2 separate regions of the Homo sapiens genome follow, and region 1 is linked to region 2. The links are contacts of gene promoters, found by promoter capture Hi-C in blood cells and fetal thymus (Javierre and others, 2016). All regions are on one chromosome and are shown on one strand. The core of a region is centred on a gene start or on the middle of the fragment in contact, and the rest is flanking DNA. Distances in the headings are between cores, read along the strand shown.

Region 1 (2,700 bases), core at 7-2,506, 160 kb after region 2:
TTAGGCTCTTGGGCCAACTGGGACAAAAAAGCTTGGTGTTTTATGCTCCTGAGATAGATACCAGAGTGGGGGTAACCTTCCCAGAGTGGACAGGGGACAAGTCTTTAGTTTGGGTCTCTGGCCACAGATTCCAGAGGCTCGGTCTTCACTTATCCAACTCATCTGCAAAAAGCCTAAGCACAAGTTGGCAAAACAGGCAAAGGTGATCTGTGGGGAAGCCAGCCCATGTCCATAGACGGGTCCAGTAGAATGAACTTGGATAGGCAGAGAGAGGCCTGTGGGAGCTACAGTGCTGGAGGTGGGGAGGTCGTGAGGACAGAGGAACTTTATCTTCAGTGTGAAGCTCTTGCTTCCTTTCTTGTTCCCTGAACCATCCGGGTCATTGGGTCACACAGCCCCGTGTCTTCCCATCCTTCCATTTCTCTCTGACTTTCTGTCTGCATCTGTGGCTTGGCCCTGCCTGCTGTGCTGCTTATTAGCTTTCAGAGAGGAAGAGCTCTGCATGGTGACAAAAAGGAGATTGTTGGGTCCCTCTGCCTGCAATCTAGAAAGGGGCACACAGCTTGAGTGTGGAGGGCAAGAGGAGGGTTGGAGACTGGGAGGATGGCCGCGGCCATCAGGGGTCTCCTCCTCCCTGCAGTCCTGGCTCTCTGTCATGTGAGTGGTCCCCCTTGTGCTTGGTGGAATTGCTGGCAGTGACAGGAAGGAGATTACAGACTGTATTTATGCCTTGTAGCTTTCTGTAGGCTGTTGGGAAACAAATGGAACTCGGCAGTTGTCAGTTCTGGGAAGGAGAATTCCAAGTGTATTGTAGCCCTGAAGCGGTGCCCTGTGTGAGGGCATGCTGGTGTCACCTCTGATCGTCCTTCCTCTCTCAAATGTGTGTTTTATTCCCTGAGTGGAGAACAGGGTCAGCTTCTTTCCCTAATATTGGAGTGATTCCTCTCTGAGTTGTAGCTCCTCTGTGTCGTCTTGGGGTGGGGGCAGCAGAGGCTCAGCTAGAGCAGAAAGACAAGGAACACATGGCTATGGCAGGATGTCGAAGGGAGCCCTGGAACCCCAGCACCAGGAGGGACACAATGAAAGAGACAGAGGCTGGAGGCCACACCAGGCAGGCAGGGCTTCCTCCCCTCCCCAGCCCTGACCCTGGCCCTGAGCCCTGCTCTGGCCATTGTGGGATCTGGAGGCTGACAGTCAGAAGCAGCATCACACACACATTGTAGGTGGCAATTATTTCTTTACCTTCTATTTTGCCCACTAGACTGTAAACACCTAGAAGACAGGGAGAGAGCGGGGGAGAGAGAGAGAAAGAGAGAGAGTGAGTGAGAGAGAGAGAGAGAGTGAGTGAGAGAGAAAGAGAGACAGAGACAGAGACAGATAGTATGTGTGTTGTGTCTTTGATGCCCAGGCCCCAGCACAAGGTAGATTCTTAATATATGGGGACTAAATTGAAGCAATTTGTACCTTCCCAGGTACAGGGCAGGAAGGAGTAGTAAAAAGCTACCAAAGAACAGATCTGTCATTTACCAAGTCAGCCTCAGACACCCGGAAAAGGCTGATGTTAGCAAAGCTCCCAGGATTGGCCCACCCCACCACTCAGGGCACAGCCGCCTCTGCCTCTCCTTCCGGGAGTGCAACATTAATTTAGCACTTACTACTGCAGGCACTCTCTTTGGATTGGTAAGAAATAGAAGGGCAAAGAGAAGCAGAGAGCTTGGGAGAACAAAATGTCTGGAGTCAGAAGACACGCCACTTGCTGGCTGTTTTCTTAGGCAAGCCCTGTGCTTGACTTTCCTAAGCCTCATTTTCCACATCTACAAAATAAGAGCAACTACCTGGCAAGGGAAAGGCATCTCTCATACGCTGCTGATAGGATGTAAATGGGTATGACCTTCCTGCAAGTAATTTGTAAAAATTCCTTAAGACGAACACACCTTTGGACTTGGCAATTCCACATCCAGAAACTTATCCTAAGAAAATGATCAAGTCTGGAGCAAGAGTCCACTGCAAGAATAGTCATTATGTGTTTATAATAGCAAAAACTGGAAATAATCTAAACAACAAATGTGAAGAATTTGTCTGAGTAATTATAGTATACCCATAAATGGAATGCCATAATCATTAAAATTATAATATATTTTCCTCCTACATGAAAAGGTGTTTATGATATGTTGTTAAATACAAAAGGCTATTTAGTGAACAGTATGAAAATATGATACTGCTTTTAAAAAAGAAGCATTTTACTCCAAATATTAACTGTAGCTTATATTTGTATTGTAGGATTGCTACTAACTTAACATTTTTCCTCTTATTTGTCTATTTTTTACAAGAAGCATTTGCTATTTTTTAAAGGTAACAAAATCATCATATTAAAATACCTACTTTTAAAGGTTGTTTTAAGAGTTAAAGAAGATATTACACATGAAAGTACTTTGTGAACTGAAAAAATTATACAGATTTAAGATAGGACTTCTGCCCATGAGAAGCTTATAGTTTGGAAGGAGATGAAAGATATCTAAGATAACCATAGCATGAGACAGGATGTGACTAGAGCTTTCAGAGAATGACAAGCAGCATGTTATTTGGAAGCACAGAGGAGGAAAAATTACTTCTGGCTGTGGAGGTAGCAGCCAGAATGTTTGCATGAACACTGAGGAATGGTTCAGGTAGAAATATCTGATCAGACAGAAATATAGAATC
Region 2 (2,700 bases), core at 4-2,503:
GATTCTTTACTGAAAACCCAGAGGCTGGGTTTCACTTTCTGCTTTCCCGCTTTTGTCGGTGTCTTTGTCTGGGCTTCTTCCAGGCCCCCTGCCTGGCCTGGGGTCAGAGGATCAATGGCTGCCTGACTGGCTGAAAGGGCTCCTCTATGGGGAGCAAGAAGCAAACTTCCAGAGGCAGAAGGGGTTCTCTTGTCCCTTTATGCGGAGGGCCATGTGCTAAGTTGAGGAAGCAAGCAAGTGTGCTCCTGTGTGTGGCTCTTAGTAGGACTGTGATCTCTGCTGAGTGAATGGAGGCGCTTGTGGGTCTACACATGCCTGCTTTTGTCTTCCACTGTAGAGGGCATGTAAGGAGCCCATTTCCTCCCTGATGTAGATGAAGCCACCCCAGCAGGCCCAGGCTGAAACAGCCCAGCTGGTCTTTCCCTTTATATGACTGCACCCCAGCCCCCAGAACTCTGGGAACTCACTGAGTTTCTTGAGGACTTTTTATTAGAATGAAAATAGCAGTGGCTTAGAACAGGCTTGCCTGACATTTGCAAAGAAGTGCTTTACTGACAAAGCCTATCCACTCTTTCCTCTCTCCCTCTGCCCCACCTTGAACCAGACACCCCGGGAAGCCCACAGCAGAAAAAGCTCTTGAGACCAGGAATAACTAACCAGAGTGTCATCTGAACACCTTTTCTGGGGCCAGGGTAATGAGAATTATTCAAATGCAATCATAAAAATGAGGCCAGCCAGGCAGGAAAAGGGGGAGGGGGAGTGCTGGTGGAAGGAAGGATTTCTTGCCCGTTTTAAGTTTCATCATTTCTGGGGAGTTCTCTTGGGGTCCACAGAAAATCTCACCTCATCTCGGTCCCCTCAGCACCGGTGATATCTTGGAACTCGGCCCCGGTTGTTCGCTAAGGAGGACTTGGCTTGGGGGCGGGAGGGTGCTCCAGAGTTCCTGGGGGTCCACCGCACTCCCCATCCGAGGCTCCTCGCGAGCGGAGCCGCTTCTCCAGGCCGCCCGCCTCCCTGCCGCAGGAGCAGGCCCGCGCCCGCCGCCCGAGAGCCTCCGGTAGAGGGAGACACTCCAGCGGCTCCTCCGACTTGGCAGCGGCCGGGCCGGGAGTGGGTGGGGGTGATGGGGGGTGGGGAGAAAAGGGGGAGTGGGGAGAGGGGAGGTGTGTGAAGGGGGGGTCCGGGGGGCGGGTCCCTGTGCCGCTGACGTCCCGAGCAGTGCTGGGAAGTATAGGCTGTGTTGTCACGCCGGTGTCAGTCTGATGAAGATTGGCATCAGGTAAGCTGTCATTCATTTCCATGTCAGAGACGCTTTTGCAGGCGGCGGCGGCGGCGCGGCGGCGGCTGCTGCTGCGGGCGGCTGCCTCAGAGCGCGTGTGTTTTATTCCAGTCCCCAAGCCAGAGTATTATTCATTGCGACAGGGCAAGGAGGAGAGAGGGAGAGAGGGAGGCAGCAGGGAGGAGAGAGAGGGAGGCAGCAGGGAGGAGGGAGGCAGGGAGCAGCGAGGGACGGCGGGAGCGTGCAGAGAGAAGCTGGGGAAGCGCCGGGAGAGCGCGGAGCGGAGCAGCGCGAGGGGCGGCGAGGCCGGGCACGGAGGCTGCGAGAGCCCCGCGGGCCGCCCGCTCCCCTGCCCGGCCAGCGCTCAGCCCCGCCGCCGCCGCCGCCGCCGCCTCGCCGCGCTTGGGCCCGTGGCCGGCCGCGCATTGTCCTCGGGTGCAAGGAGCCGGGCTGCGGACTCGAATCGCCGCGGGCCCAACCCCGTAGCGGGCGGGCGGGGAGCTGTGCGCCAGGAGCGCCAGGGGACCCGAGAATAGGAACAGGCACGCCGGCCCGAGCCCGGGTGCAGAAGGCTCCCGGCCGGGCGCTCCGCGGGGAGAGGCTGGGAACCGCGGGCAGGCTCCAGGTTCTCTTTCTCCCGGCTTCGGGCGTCCTTGGGGCCGGCGCTTACTCCGCGCCACCAGCCTGGAGATGCTTTCCAGCGGCTGGAGGCGGGAGCGGTCCCAGGCTGGGGCCAGGTGACCGGAGGAGTCGAGGAGCCGCGGCCGCGGCCTGGGGAGGCAGGGCGAATGAGGGTTTGCAGACGGATCAGTGGAGACAGGGGAACACCGGCGGGGCCCGGGAAGCCAGGATCCGAGGGGCTACACGCACGGACCCTCACCCAGGGAGGAGCGAGAATGTGTAGGGTCACCGGCTTTCCATGATTGCTGGGGATCTTTGGTGAGGCGGGCGTAGGGGCCCGCGCGAGGCTTGGGAATCGGGAGCCCTTCTGGCTCGAGAACTAGGGGATGAGTTCGTAAAAGAGGGAACTGAAAGCGATCGAGAGCGGAGAGCTGAGGGGGATGGCGCAGGATCCCGAATCTGCCGCTCAAAGTTTGCATTTCTTTCGGGTTAGGAGACGGGCTTTCCTGGCTCCCGATCCCCAGGAAGAAACGAGCGAAATGGGCCGTCCTTTCCCGGGGCTCTTCACGGGGGAGCCGGGGGTTTCCGCGCGGTGGGGAGACTCGGGTTGGGAATTGAGGGGTAGGGGCTTGTGGATCGGCCTGAATTAGGGCTGGGTTTTAGGACCAGTCTAGAGTTCGGTTTATAGGATCCAGACTGTTTACGGAATCGGGATCGAGGGGCCGATAAGTAGTTTACACGCCGGCCAGAGCAGAGGGCTGGAGGTCGGAGTTGGGGGCTGGAGGAACGGGTGGCGTTTT

What was found. Contacts are between HindIII fragments. The CHiCAGO score rates a contact against its expected background, and 5 or more counts as called.
Region 1: a fragment that was not itself captured here is called in contact with the fragment with the promoter of PKNOX2 in region 2 in 2 of 17 cell types (endothelial precursors and M2 macrophages); the score reaches 7.3 in endothelial precursors.

What each region holds. Positions count from the first base shown.
Region 1 is chr11:125,327,039-125,329,738 of GRCh38, forward strand. The region is part of intron 2 of PKNOX2 (PBX/knotted 1 homeobox 2); the gene reads left to right. Among named protein-coding and RNA genes, the nearest start is that of PKNOX2-AS1, 62 kb to the left of the region's middle. The HindIII fragment of the contact is 2,455 bases long and covers 30-2,484 here.
Region 2 is chr11:125,163,498-125,166,197 of GRCh38, forward strand. It overlaps PKNOX2 (PBX/knotted 1 homeobox 2), which reads left to right and starts at 1,254. Exons shown (of 13, transcript NM_001382323.2): 1 at 1,254-1,279. PKNOX2-DT (PKNOX2 divergent transcript) reads right to left here and starts at 1,112. Exons shown (of 3, transcript NR_125759.1): 1 at 844-1,112. RefSeq lists a silencer at 967-1,116. The HindIII fragment of the contact is 6,114 bases long and covers 1-2,700 here.